Linked DNA regions of Homo sapiens: all the other regions are linked to region 1. Evidence: promoter capture Hi-C in human tissues and cell types (Jung and others, 2019). All regions are on one chromosome and are shown on one strand. The core of a region is centred on a gene start or on the middle of the fragment in contact, and the rest is flanking DNA. Distances in the headings are between cores, read along the strand shown.

The links. Contacts are between HindIII fragments. The study calls those that stand out against the background at their distance.
Region 2: a fragment that was not itself captured here is called in contact with the fragment with the promoter of PCSK5 in region 1 in 1 of the 25 tissues and cell types used here (mesendoderm cells).
Region 3: a contact is called between a fragment that was not itself captured here and the fragment with the promoter of PCSK5 in region 1, in 2 of the 25 tissues and cell types used here (lymphoblastoid cells and mesenchymal stem cells).

What each region holds. Positions count from the first base shown.
Region 1 is chr9:75,888,319-75,893,276 of GRCh38, forward strand. PCSK5 (proprotein convertase subtilisin/kexin type 5) reads left to right here and starts at 2,355. Exons shown (of 38, transcript NM_001372043.1): 1 at 2,355-3,055. The coding sequence starts at 2,864. The HindIII fragment of the contact is 15,443 bases long and covers 1-4,958 here.
Region 2 is chr9:76,234,425-76,239,382 of GRCh38, forward strand. It overlaps PCSK5 (proprotein convertase subtilisin/kexin type 5), which reads left to right. Exons shown (of 38, transcript NM_001372043.1): 23 at 4,535-4,741. Among named protein-coding and RNA genes, the nearest start is that of RFK, 160 kb to the right of the region's middle. The HindIII fragment of the contact is 5,301 bases long and covers 423-4,958 here.
Region 3 is chr9:76,195,719-76,200,676 of GRCh38, forward strand. All of the region lies in intron 20 of PCSK5 (proprotein convertase subtilisin/kexin type 5), which reads left to right. Among named protein-coding and RNA genes, the nearest start is that of RFK, 200 kb to the right of the region's middle. The HindIII fragment of the contact is 3,635 bases long and covers 879-4,513 here.

The sequences.
Region 1 (4,958 bases), core at 1,105-3,604:
ATCTTCAAGAGGGGTAATCCAATGTCCCTATGCATAGATGCAGATTGTCAGAGTTAACAGTGTTGTAATAGATTGTGAGCTTTCGGACTCCATGGCTAGGGAAGCAGGAAGAGATGTGTCTACAGGGACTGGCTAGCAGGGAGACTGTACCAAAACTCTAAAGCACAAGCATAGTGCTTATGTTTTCCTCTTAAAAATAATAATAATAGGGCCGGGAGCGGTGGCTCACGCCTGTAATCCTAGAACTTTGGGAGGCCGAGGCGGGCGGATCACAAGGTCAGGAGATCGAGACCATCCTGGCTAACACAGTGAAACCCCGTCTCTACTGAAAATACAAAAAAATTAGCCAGGCCTGGTGGCGGGCGCCTGTAGTCCCAGCTGCTCGGGAGGCTGAGGCAGGAGAATGGCGTGAACCCGGGAGGCGGAGCTTGCGGTGAGCCGAGATCGCGCCACTGCACTCCAGCCTGGGCAACAGAGCGACACTCCGTCTCAAAAAAATAAATAAATAAATAATAATAATAATAATAATAATAATAGGACGGGCATGGTGGATCATGCCTGTAATCCCAGCACTTTGCGAGGCCAAGGCAGGCAGAGCATTTGAGATCAGGAGTTCGAGACCAGCCAACCCTGTCTCTACTAAAAATACAAAAATTAGCCAGCCTGTAATCCCAGCTACTCGGGGAGGCTGAGGCAGGAGAATCGCTTGAATCCGGGAGGCGAAGGCTGCAGTGAGCCAAGATCACACCACTGCACTCCAGCCTGGGCGACAGAGCGAGACTCTGTCTCAAAAATACATACATACATACATACATACATACATACATACATACATACATACATACCTTCAATAATAAACCACATTTACTCTACAGTATTCAGAGATTCTGAATTCCACTAATTTTTTGTGCCTCCCCCTTCCCCTTTCTCCAGTGTACAGCACAATTCATTGCACATGCTAGGTGCTCAAAACAGATGTGTTGAATCAGTCAAATAAATAAACGAATAAAATACATACACTTCTGCACATGTTTTAGTTCTTCTGATCTTCTATTTCTTCAGCTATAATGTGGGGATGATGTTATTTTGTGGGTTTGTTTTCAAGATTAAATAATATAGCATACCTTATACAATATGTAAAATGTCAAATGCTATGCTCAAAGGTACTAGTGGAATTTTAAGTCTGCAGGTATCTTTCAGATTTTAAAAAATCAGTACCAAAAGCTATAGGTGGGATGAGTTAATTAATCTCAAACACATTTAAATTAACAGGAAGAAAGAAATAGGGCATGGTAGGAGGAGAGAAAGGAGGACAGTTAGGGATATAGTGAATACTTTTAAAGTCAGTTGAATTATTTCATACGGGATAATTTTTCTTGTCACAGTAAATCACCCTGTGCCCCACCCCCGCTCCAGGAAGGCAGGGAGGTTGTAAAGGAGAAGCGAGAAGAGGGTTAATTTGAGCTCCCTCCTGCCTGCTGCAGTCACAGTGCATGATAGAGTAATGAAGGTGACGCCGCCACATATCTCATCTGAACTTCCTCTGTGGTCTTTTTCATATTAAAGTCTTTCACTGTTACAGGACTGTGCTTGGAAAAGTTGGGAAACTTTTCCCTTGGTGGAGAAAAAGAAGCCCTCGTCAGACGCAATCCAACAAATGAATGGAGTTATTTCCTTGGCCCAACATGTCCATCCACTAGCACACCAAATATTCATAGAAACATCTTTCCTCACTTCCAAGGCCGGAATTGTACTCTCCCGTGGCGTTGCCTAGTATCGCAGATTTCGAAAGTGAGCAGGCAACAGACTTGGCTTTCGAGCCAATTCTAGGAGTCGATGCGACTTACTGTCCTGTGTGGTAGCTTCTCCCGGGAGCAGAAAGTGTAAAATAAACAGCTGCTGAAAAGCATGAAGAATTAACGAAGTGAAAATCTCGAGTTATTTGTTCGGCAATTGACACGTAAGTGACCTCCTTAAATGCCTAGTTATTTAAGGACGTTTAGAACGAGGATGAATGAATCTTCAGGGCGGTTAATTCGCACCGGCGTGTAAATTTCTTTAGTCTTTCGGGAAGTGGCGGTAAATTCATACAAATCCAGCAGGGAGGGAAGAGAAGGGAGTAAAACCACGATCTCGGAGCGCTCTTCTCAGTCCTTTGGAAAGACTTGCCTTTACTGCCCGGAACCCTGGAGGTTACAGCTGGGCGAACCCGGAGGCGCTAGGACCTCGTCAGCGCCTGGCTGCGGCCGCTTTCAAGAGGGCGGAGGAGGGAGAGGAGGAGGGCGATGTGGGAAAGGAGGGGTGTTAAGGGGGGCGGGGGAAGTCATTTATGCAGAGCAGGAGCTGCTGCCATTGCCACTCAGAATCCTCGCGCGCTGCTCGGAGCCGGAGGGAGCGCTGGGAGCGAGCAAGCGAGCGTTTGGAGCCCGGGCCAGCAGAGGGGGCGCCCGGTCGCTGCCTGTACCGCTCCCGCTGGTCATCTCCGCCGCGCTCGGGGGCCCCGGGAGGAGCGAGACCGAGTCGGAGAGTCCGGGAGCCAAGCCGGGCGAAACCCAACTGCGGAGGACGCCCGCCCCACTCAGCCTCCTCCTGCGTCCGAGCCGGGGAGCATCGCCGAGCGCCCCACGGGCCGGAGAGCTGGGAGCACAGGTCCCGGCAGCCCCAGGGATGGTCTAGGAGCCGGCGTAAGGCTCGCTGCTCTGCTCCCTGCCGGGGCTAGCCGCCTCCTGCCGATCGCCCGGGGCTGCGAGCTGCGGCGGCCCGGGGCTGCTCGCCGGGCGGCGCAGGCCGGAGAAGTTAGTTGTGCGCGCCCTTAGTGCGCGGAACCAGCCAGCGAGCGAGGGAGCAGCGAGGCGCCGGGACCATGGGCTGGGGGAGCCGCTGCTGCTGCCCGGGACGTTTGGACCTGCTGTGCGTGCTGGCGCTGCTCGGGGGCTGCCTGCTCCCCGTGTGTCGGACGCGCGTCTACACCAACCACTGGGCAGTCAAAATCGCCGGGGGCTTCCCGGAGGCCAACCGTATCGCCAGCAAGTACGGATTCATCAACATAGGACAGGTAACGAACTACAGGCTAGCCCAGCCCTCGGCCCTGAAGCCACTGGGGGCTTCTTGTCCCCTCTGCGTGGAACCCCCTCCCCCTCTTCCAGATGTGCTCTAGCAGCTGTTGCCCTAACTCTTGGGCGATGCTCTGTCTCCTGCGCGCGCGCGCGTACGCACACACACACACACACACACACACACACACACCCCAGAGTTGCCGGGTCCGTGTTTTGTTTACTTGTCTTTTCCAAGCCACGCGGGACTGGTAGGGTCTCGGGAAAAATCCAGAGTGCCCCCGTGGTGGCTTCAGAGACGGCTGGACCTTTTGACCTGAAAAGTCGAGTAGCACTAGTAATCTGAGGCAGTCTCAGAGAGGGTGATCGTGGGGAGAGGGGGAAATTAGGTCTTTTGGGGGATAGGGGGTGAGCGCGCCTCTGATGCCTGCGGGGAAGGGAAAGCCTTTCCTGCTCGGACCTGAATTTAGCCCAGAAAGAAGTTTCCTCTTGGGCGAGAGAACCTCTGGCGCTGGAGACTCCGGAGGCGCGGGGACTGGAGCTGGAAGGGAGGAGAAAGGAGGGGGAGGGAAGAGGGGGCCGGCCCCGGTGTGAGTGCAGATTTAGGGGAGACCTCTAGGCTTTCTCGCCTTAAGCGAGGTCCGCGTGGGGGCTCCCGGAAGGGAGTTGTAGTGGGGAGGTGGGAAACTTCCGAAACCGGCTGGCTGGGTTCCGCTCCGGGAAAACGAGGAGTCTTACCCCGGGACGGAAGGTGCCGGGCCGGGAGGTTGCGCCGTGGGGCGAGAGTTGGGCAGGCAGCAGGGGCGCGGGGTTTTTGTGGGGTGCCGCTCTCGGGCTTTTGGCAGAGCTCTCCTGCTAGGGAGAAATGCCCATAAACTAAGGTGATGCTATGAGGATGATTGGAAGCGTAACAGATTTGGAAGTACTCCGGGTTCAGTGGTCTTGGCTTTCTGGTTCTCTTCCCCCGACACCCCTGCGAGAAATGGGGGTAGAGAGGGCTATGAAAGTGGGTCCCAGAAAGTACCCCCCTCCACATACACACCGCAAGCATCTTTGGGGTTGGCCGGAGGGGCGGGCCCTGGCTGGGCTCAGGCGAGAATCCGCTGGAATGGGAGGTGAGGATGATGGATGGCGCCTTTCCAGCAGGCGCGCTTTGGGGACTGCCCGGGGTGCACGCACCCTGCGTGCTCTGCCAGGGGGAAGGGAGAGGGAGGTGCTGGCTGGTGCCGGCGGAGTGGGAGAGTACGGACAGTTTCTGAGGCCATTGCGTTCCACGCCCAGGAACCCGGGGACACCCCCCGCCCCTCCTCCCCGCCGCCTGGGGGATGCGGCACCTGGAGAGGAGGCAGAGCTGCTGTCGCCGCGTTTAGAAGGAGCTGGGGAGTGCGGGGAGTGTTCAGAGGAGCAAGAGCACAAGATCTTGCTCTTTGCCCGCCCAGAGGGAGGACATATTCCAGAGAAGCCAGCCCTGTGGAGAACTGAGACTAGGGCAAGGGGCACGGTTTGTATTCCCTCCTGCCCCTGGAACTAAGGAAGTAAGGGAAGCCAGCCAGATTTTGTTGCTTGAGTGACTGTTATCTGCGGAAGATTTCCATTCTAAAGGCTCGTTGGGATTCTACTGGCTTCTTTTTCTCTGGAAGAAAACACTGAGTCCGTTCAGGTCTTTTTACATGAACTTAAAGTTGGGCACTGCCTATGCCCTGGGAATGGAACTGGGGAGGCTAGCACTGAAAGTAGCTAGTACTATTAATCTTTCCAGAGATTCATCTCGGGTTCTGCTAACATTGAACATCTCACACATGACCAGGCATTTTTGGAGGAATAAATTCTTGAACATACCCTTCTTTCTTAATCTCAAAACAACCTTGTTTGGTGAATATTACCTCACACACAGGAGATGAGGAA
Region 2 (4,958 bases), core at 1,823-4,322, 350 kb after region 1:
AGCATCATCATCCTTACATCATTTTTCTGGTGGAAGAGAATTATTGATCTTTATTCTTCCTTGAAATAAACCAAGAAAAATGAAGAACACATTGAGAGTACCAGGCATTTGCAGGAGATCAGGAGATAACACATTTCTGTATATAAATTCATTGCTTTGTGTTTCATGTGTCAAAACATGACAAATATCTGTCATATTTTACTTCTAGACTGCCTTATTCTGTTTCCTTCTTCATCTACAAGGTGATGATAATGCTTACTTCTTTAAGAGTTTTTATGAAAATTAAATGACATGAAATGAGATAAAACAATAAAGCATTTAGAACAGGGCTAGCCACATGGTGAGCACTTGGAATATTAACTGTTTTTATTTTTATTATTATTACTGTTATTGTTTGTAGCTGCTTAGTCTTTTGAGCATTTGAGTTTCTCTTGCTCCTAAGACTTCATTTGAGATGTTTCCTCTTCTCTGGCTGATGTCTTCCTATTCCATCTTAGTTTCAACATCATTTCCTCAGTGAGGGCTGCCCTAACCTCCTTGCCTAGATTAGGCCTTCACATCAGCAACCTGGGAACGCTGCACTTCCCCCTTCATGAGCCTCAACACATTTGATGTCTATTTGGTCCATAAGTTTCTATGCCCCATAAGAGCATGGCATGGTTTCTACCTTGTTTCTGCTGTATTTTAAGCATCAGCACAGTGTCTGGTATATGGAAGGTTCATAATAAATAACTGAATGAATTAATGAATGAATGGTTCAATGGAAGGAATGTTAAGACCAGCAGTCAGAAAATGTGGGTTCAAGTCCCGCCTTTGTTACTGACGAGAAGGTACTAAACCAGTCACTTCACCTCTTTATGCCTCTTCTTATTTGCAACAAAAAAAAAGAAGAAGAAGAAGAAGAGAAAGTACAAGATGGCATCCAAAATCACTTTTACATCTCCATATATAGCACAAAATTAGAAAGAAGTTTAGATACCAAACAAATGTCTAGTCTTCTAAGCATCCTACAACTACTTGGACCAATCTACCTATAAATGCACTGACATTTCTTCTATTTTTTTTTCTATTTGAAATTGTGTTTAATCCATTATCTTAAACATTTATTGCATCCCTTCTATTTACAAGTTACTATGCCCTGAATGCCAGAGAAAATGAGATAAATGATAGCATGATACTCATGTTCAAGGAATTACAGTCTAACAAGGAGGTTTGTCCTCATATGTTACAAAACAAGAAAATAATAGATGAAGACCAAATGCATGGTAGAAATCCTATCCCAGATCAGAGAAGCAGCATCACTTCCAGCTGTAATGAGCAGAGAAGGCTTCCTCGAGGTGGGGTGTTGTTTACCAAGCCCTGAGGTAGCTCTGCCTCCTTGAGAGTGTGATGTCCTTAAGAAGCATTAGTGAAGCAAGTGTAGCAGAGACCTTGATAACACAGTGCTGAAGAAGATGGATGACTTAATTGAAGAAGTTCCATATCCATAAATGGAAGCTTTAATAAAAGGCTAAAAATCCTCCAGCCGGGGTGTCCCATCAACCTTCATAAGCCCCTCCTACCAATTTGTAGAGATTGCATCCCTTGTTTAATTGTGACTTCATTAAGGTTTAGGTATGATGCCTCTTGGAAGTGTACATCTCCAGCTATATTGCTGAGGATTCACTCCAATTCTCTTCCAGATTTATTCACTACCAAACTACCCAAAGCTAAATTCCATCAATCACACAACAGCTACAGTAAGCAAAATGTGGTAGTCAACTTCATCAAGTTTATTTTCAGAATCCCTGCACCTTTCTTTTATCCTTTCCAGCAGTCCTTTTCGCCTCATGCCTTCAACCCTCACCCTTTCTTTTCTTCTATGGACATCCAATATCATCATGCTGGTCCACTTTCTCACCTAACAGAATCAGCTGCCAAGAAATGCTCTGGTAAAAGTGAATTACTCTCCAGAATAAACAAAAGCCAATCCAAACTCTTGTCCCCTATTATCCCATTTGAACTCTTGTCGCCTGTTTTCCCAGGAAAGTTTTTGGTGCCTAACAAAAGTATCAGCCCTTCTACCGCTGGAAATAGCTTCGTCTACATACTATTATAATAATTTAAAGTCGAAGACCCTGGGCAAGTAGCCAAAAATTTATGCATGGTATTTAAATTTCTGAGCTATCCAAATTATCATCCATAACTAATTGAGCAGGGCTACTCAAAATCTGACCGAATCTTGACATAGTCCTGGACCAAACCTGTCGGAAAAGCTGGTCATGGCCAAGGCATCTAAGTGACCTCCCTTTGTAGGTCTATGTATTTTAAACACTGAGACCCCCTGAAATCTCTGTTCTTTAAACCCAAATTATAACACCCAAAGAGGCACCTCAATAAAGCCATGTCCAAACAATAAAAATGGGATTGAAGAACACTTCCTTCTAAATCTGGGCCCGTCGTTGCTAATTTTTAAGATTGATGATCCAGTTGGATATAGGGGAAAAATTGAATATTGCCAAATTCCACAAATACATATTTAGAGCCTTAGACTCCCTCTAAGCATCTGGATCCTGAGTTGATGTCTTGTGAAGGTGCAGGGGATGGAGAAGAGGTAGACTTCCTCACTGCTCTCCCTCAAATCTTCCTACCTACACCAGAGAAATTGGGGAACTCTGAAAAAAAGATTTTTTTCTGAATGAGTCATGGTGGATGGAAGTGGCATTTGCAACGGTTTCATAAAGTGGCTGAGAACATAACTTGGAAGGATGACCCTCTTGTGATCTTCAGAGATTCCAGGTTCCACCAGATCAGAGTCTTGTGCTCCACAATGTTGATCGATAGCTATAGAATCACCAAATGCACATTAGTCCTTCCAAACCCTCTTCTTTCCTTAGAGGATAATCTCTTCTATGTCTAATTTAGAAACAGCAGAATATTTTCTTCCACCACCTCTGTGGAAGCCCTTTTTATTTTCTTAGTCCTATGGGAACCAGTAGCCTTCTAGTAGAAAATCACAATTAGCAAAATAGGTAGCTTGAGAGCCCATAATCCAAAAGCATGTTTTAAAAATTGCATTTCAGGCGAGGCACAGTGGCTCACGCCTGTAATCCCAGAACTTTGGGAGGCCAAGCCAGGCAGATCACTTGAGTCCAGGAGTTCAAGACCAGCCTGGGCAACATGGTGAAACCCTATCTCTACAAAACATACAAAAAAAAAAAAAATGGTTGGGCATGGTGGCACGCACCTGTGGTTCTAGCTACTTGAAAGGCTGAGGCGGGAGGATCACTTGAGCCCAGGAGAGGAGGTTGCAGTAAGCTGAGATCATGCCACTGCATTCCAGCCTGGACAACAGAGTGAGACCCTGTCTCAAAAAAAAGAAAATGTATTTCAACTATGGCTTTGAATAAATAAGAAATATTATGATAAATGATGTGAAAGTGCCATGCTCACAGGTAAAAAATAGTTAAATATCGGCAATTTCACGTGGGTCAATTTAACATTATACTGACTCTCAGTTTCTGCACTTGCAACATGGGGTTAGTGCTATCTTTATCCACAAATTCAGCAGCCTTGCATCTTGAAGGTCAATGATTCTGGATCTCCATGTGGTAGATCACATGACGAATGAACCCTAGACCCCGGTTATTCTGAGTAACACAGATCAGCTGCTCTTCAGAGGCAGGGACATGTGGGAAATCTGATTCAGAGAAGATGGATACCCCGAGCACACTCAGCACAAAAACTCCGGGAGGGTGGGAGTAGGAGACCTCTAGATGCATCAGTAGTCATCTTATTGTTGTTTTTGTATTCCTAACGGATTAGAATCCTTTGTAACTAATTGTGATGCTTTGTAACTAGTTAGACTTTTTCATTCCCTCCAGAAACAAATTCCCATGGTCTGTTAGGCTGTGGGCACTGCTGATTCTTTCCTTATAGAATCCAATGTTGACAAAAGTCAGGAACCCTCAGGAATGCACGTAAAAGAGTCAAAGAAGTGTGCTTGGTCTAGTGCTTCAATAAGCTTGTCATTATCGGCATTGGCAGCTCTGCAGAAATTCAGACCTTAGATGGTTAACGCAAGCATGTGACCGATAACAATTCAAAATCATTTTAAAAGATTGCACTTTCATAAAAAGTGTCGATCATTATGCATGTGTTTATTCTCATGGGCTCTCTATAGCCCCCAAGTCTGAGAGCTTTCACAGATACCAAAAGGAGCCTTTGGGAAAGTTAAACACATTTTGAATTGTAGTTAAACACAATGTGAATTGTAGTTATTCACAGAGCATCATTTTGCAATGACATCCCAGATAGTAGTCGCTGTTCACTGAAATATATAAAATATTGGAAAATAATTCCCTGCAAGGAAAACTTCTCAACTACAAGGATGTAGCTATTGCACTTTTCATTAAATCCATCCTTACACCCCTCATCCACTAGGAAAAAAAAGCACTCAGTCGCATCTTTTTAAAATATAATATCTTACATTATAATAGCTTCATGGCTAACTTTGTACATTTTCCCTCTTTTCGTTGCCCCTGTAACTGATCAGACAACTATGGCCGAGAGCACTTCCTGTACCAGGGAGAGTGTGGAGATAGCTGCCCAGAGGGCCACTATGCCACTGAGGGGAACACCTGCCTGCCCTGCCCAGACAACTGTGAGCTTTGCCACAGCGTGCATGTCTGCACAAGATGCATGAAGGGCTACTTCATAGCGCCCACCAACCACACATGCCAGAAGTTAGAGTGTGGACAAGGTAAGCCTGCTCCTGGGCCCTTGCCCAGCACCCGAACATGGGAGGAGGGGCTGCACCCTGGATGTCCTGGAGACTTGAATTGCCTTCCTGGCTTGCATGTCAGCACTTGGGATGATTTTGGGTGACTCCCAACCCTAGTGGGGAGAGAGGTAACTTTCTCTCTCCCTCTCTGTTCACACACCCTTTCTCTGGGTTTCCTCAGATATAATCCAAGGTC
Region 3 (4,958 bases), core at 1,446-3,945, 310 kb after region 1:
GTGACCCATTGTTAAATCCAAATCCACTTTTACTGAAAAATACTGTACATGTGTAAAATGTTCAGTTGTTTTTTTGTAAAATATAGTAGAACGGTTGTAACTGATACTGGCCAAAATCAATGTTATTCCATATTTTATTTTTTCTATTAAATTAACCTAAGTTCCTGTTTATTTGATCTGTTCATACCCACGTATAAACTTCTCTGAAAGGGTAAGGTCATGAGAAACTTCCCTGTTTCTACATAGAAGCTGAATATGAAGGAAAGGGTGGAGGTGCATGAAACATCTAAATAAAGTTGGAAAAGAAAGAGTGAGCAGAGGAGGGAATTGAGAAGGAGTGAGAAACAGCAATGTAAGAAAGGAATGGGTTAGATTTGGTCATGAATATATATTAAATACCATCTTTAGAAAGCAAGGCTGTGAAAAAAAATCCATAAAGGCTTGGTATTGTTTCTATCAGATTGTACAGACGCTGGACCCCAGAACAGGGCCCACCTGGTCCCATTCTTCCTGTAGTGCGCAGCACACCCACTAGTATGTGTCTGTAGGGTTAGGAGCCATGGCTGGGGGCAAGGAGGTAGGCAGTGTAAAAGCTGTTAAAGAGGAAGGTGGCTTTGTTCAATTTGCTGACATCTTGCGTAAAGTCGGCATTGGCTGGATGTCTAGAAGATGATTTTTGTCTAAAATAAATCTCCGGTACATACCAGGGGGTGGGACTGAACGAGCTAGCTAAAAACAGCAGTGGAGTATAGATCTTTCTGAACCGTGCCTGAGATGCAATTACTAGTCTTAAAGGTTCAGTGCTCTGCCTTTTGGGGAAAAGAAATTGTAAACCAGCCAAAGCCACAAACAAATTGAGCTCCAACTAGGTTTAAAGATCTGGAGATAACAACCAGGTATGAGAAAGAGCCTCTACTGCTTTGAAGTCCCATTATAGGGATGGAGAGAAATTAATTTTATTGATCACTTACTATGTACTACACAATGTGAGAATATAGAGTAGGTATATACACACTGATGTGGATATGTTCTCTCTCAATTTTCAGAAGGACTCCTCTAGAGGTGAATGTATTATCCTCCATTTACACATGAGAAAACTGGGCCACATAGACTTGAAACAAATTGATTGAGATTCCATATCCAGATTCATAATAATAATACAATTTAACATTAAGACAATTAACAGCAAGTAGTACATGCCAAATCTCAAATGAGTGGTACACTGAGTTGTTAAGTTCAGAACAGGCAGAGATTCCTTTGAATTGGACTGGTCAGTTCCCTAAAGCAGGTAGAGCTAGAATTGGTCCCTGAAGCATGGATGAGTCTTACCTGGGAAGACAGGAAGAGAGCGGGAAGAACATTACCAATGAACTTGCTCCAGTTACCAGTGAACTTGCTGCATACAAGGTGCTTAGGGAAGTAAGATGTTCTCATGGTTTTAATCTAATTATCTATTGCTACAAAGAACAGTGATTCAAAATTTGGTGGTTTAGTCCAGAAAAATCTACATTTGTACACCTTGTAGAAGAAGGATAGTGTGTCCATTCTGAATCCCCACATCCATGGGAGACTGCTAATTATCACTCACTTTCCACTCCAGTTATCAGAGGCTTGTCACACTGCTGATCTCTTCTACCAGATTCATTATTTTCCGCTGAATAAGCTACCCTTCATTTTTAAAGAACTTACAAACTGAGTACTTGGTAAAGAAGGGGAAGTGATTGCTATAGTAACTACTAAAGTTTCTCAATCAAAGTGATCAATACTTGCAACATATCTGAGTATGGAAATAAATACATAACATCTTATCCCCCTCATGTAAAAAGAATGTCATGCCGCTAAAATATAAAATAGACATTCATTCTTAACAGCTTCCATATTATCATTCAGCCTTGCACAGAGAGAGCAATGGCAGACGGCAATGTGTTGAACAGAAATTGCATATTGGAGGCAATTTTAAACTATGGCTCAGCCAATTTAATACCCCCCCTCCTTCTGTCCCCAACCACAAGATGGTAGAGGTGGAACAGAGGACAGCTGCAGTGTGACCTCACCCAGCCCAGGGCCCTGCGCCCAATATGTGTAGAAGACGGCACAGATCTTCTTCTCTTCTCTGGTGAACATCCCTTTCTAAATGTTATGTTTGTTGCAGACTCATGAAATCTGAAGTTTTCACACAGAATACTTTAGAGCCTTTGACATATTTAGCAGGGCATAGCCAAGGTGGACTTAATTTCACTGTAGCTCATTAGAACTACTTGGCACCTAGAAATGGGGCTAATCTGTATAATCCTGTCTCCTCTTCATCACTAGAGGTGAAGATCAGGTCCAGATTCAGTTATTGAGCAATAAAGATGCAGTTATGCAGCCTCACTACGTTTCAGCGGACCAGAATGTGACCTGGGATGGCCAGCACTCCTTCCCGTTCTCTACCTCCAAGGGACTTACAAGGACAGTTTGACTGGCTTATTACCAAAGGACTTTCTTACAAGGTCTCTTCTCTAAAGGACCATTGTTGGATCCAGTTGTGGTTTTTTTAGGGCCAGGTGTCAGGCAACAAAAGATATTTTGTATCCCACTTTCTAGAAAATTCCAGAAACGTTCCCTGAGGCTTGAGTTGTAAGATCTTTTACTTTTTTCATTTTAGAAAACAGTACATTATTTTAAAAATACAGTGTTTTAAGCTTCACAGAGTTTTACTAAAATGGATTTATTTAATTTGGCCCACACAAAAATCAGGCCGATAGACATTCATTTTCTGATGCAAGAGGCACAGCTAGTTAAGGGGTGTGGCTGGGACTCAAGCCCACAGCTTCAACATTCTGTACAACACTGATTCCTTTTTAAGAGTGCTGGAGAAAAGCAAGTCCACATCACATATGTTGCAAGGCAAGGGGGTAAGAGCCTTTTCTCAAGTGAAGATAGAAAGCACACTGTGTGCCTGGGCTTGACTTTTTCTCATTCCAAAAGAGTTGCTTCCATAAATAAATATTATTGAGTCCCCGCCACAAACTAGGTTCTGAGTGTTCTCTTGCCCTCTTCAAACTTATAGTCTAATGAGGGAAACAGACACTTAGACATAAAACACATGGTTACAATGTGAATCCGTTTAAGTGCCTTTAAAGGGTATAAAATATTGTCAGGAGTCAAAGGAGCAAGCTCACTTCACTAATCACGTGCTAAGGTTCCATGCCCTTGCACTACAAGCTTCCCAAGGACTTCCAAAAATAGCATGAAACCTTAAAAATGGAGTTGACTCTAAAATGTACAAATAAAACTGCAAAGATCAAAATCAAATGATATCTTTATTAAATATCTACAAAGTGGATCATGTCAAACTAGTCCACTGCAACTAAGAAAGTATACTTACAGCCATTGTCACTTGACAGCAGGGATATGTCTGAGAAACGCATCCTTAGGTGATTTTGTCATCATGCAAACATCATAGAACACACTTACACAAACCTAGATGGCATAGCCTACCACCCACCTAAGCTGTATGGGATGGCTTATTGCTTCTAGGCCACAAAGCTGTACAGCATGTTACCGTACTGAATACTGCATGCAGTTGTAACAAAATGGTAAGTATTTGTGTGTCTAAACATAGAAAAGGTATGGTAAATATATGGTATAATCTTATGGGACCACTGTCATATATACAGTCTGTTATTGACCAAAACGTCATTATATGGTACATGACTATAATTAATGTTAATGTAGAATAAAGGTGAATTTTAATATGCTTGATATGATGTGAGACCTGCAGAGATTGGAGAATCTAGGATCTTGAGAATCTTCATAGCCCTGCAAAGGAGGGAGGAAGTCACTATTCACCCTCTAGGGAACAGAAAAGAGGAGAGAGAGATATGTCCTATCCTTGGTGGTGGTCAGGGAGGTCACTGGGGTGGGGCGTGGAAGGGCAGCGTACGGGACTGCAATATGTGGATGTCTTCCTGGATATCATCCTCACTTCTTCCCTGTGCCTTCTACACTCTCTCCAAGGAGATCTTTGTCAATCTCATGGTTTTAAATACCATCTATATGCTGATGACTCTTAAAATATATATAGATTCCTGATCTCTTCCCTCAAGATTCACACCTGTAGATTCAATTAACTACTTGACATTTCCCTTCAGCTGTCTAATAGGCATCTCAAAATTAACACGTCCAAAATAGACTTCAGACACCCCAACCCCCTGACCATCTTTACCACCAAATCTCTCCCACCTCAGTAAATGGCATTCACTGTATTTCCAAATATATCTCTAAATGGTCTACTTCTGCCCACTCCATAGCTGTGACTGTGGCCAAACCACCATTGTTGCCATCCCAGACTGCTGCAACAGCCTCCGAACCAGCTCCCAGACTTCTCCCTCTCCTCTCCTATTTTCTCTCCTTTCCCTAATCAGTTCCCTACACAGCATAGTGCCATTACAAATGGAAAATCAGATTTCATCTCTGTTTACTGAGCATAAAATCTGAACTCCTTACCTGAGATCTTTGTGCTGTCACCTCACACCACCATCCCCCATGCCCTCACATGTTCTAGTCATGCCAACTTTCTTTTCATCCTTCAAACAAAACCAGCTTGTTTGGGACCCAGGACCCTTGCCCTTCACATGGCTGGCTTCTTCTCATCCCACAGGTCTCAGTTCAAAAATAACTTCCTCTGAGCAGTTCCTTCCACCACTGACCCCACACCTGCCCACCTCGTTTTGACTTTCCATAGCACTCACCACATGACATTTTATGGTTCGTTACTTGTTGTCAGCCAGCCCCGTGAGAGCTGGTGCTTCATCTGTCTTGTTCACAGCTGTATCTTACATGTCCAGCACATGCCTTGCTTAAGAAATATTTGTGGAATGAATGAATAAGAAAACATCCGAGAGAAGTGACATTTGACCTGGGCCTTGAAGGATAAGCAAGAAATTAAAAATCAAAGAAGGTTATGATGTTTA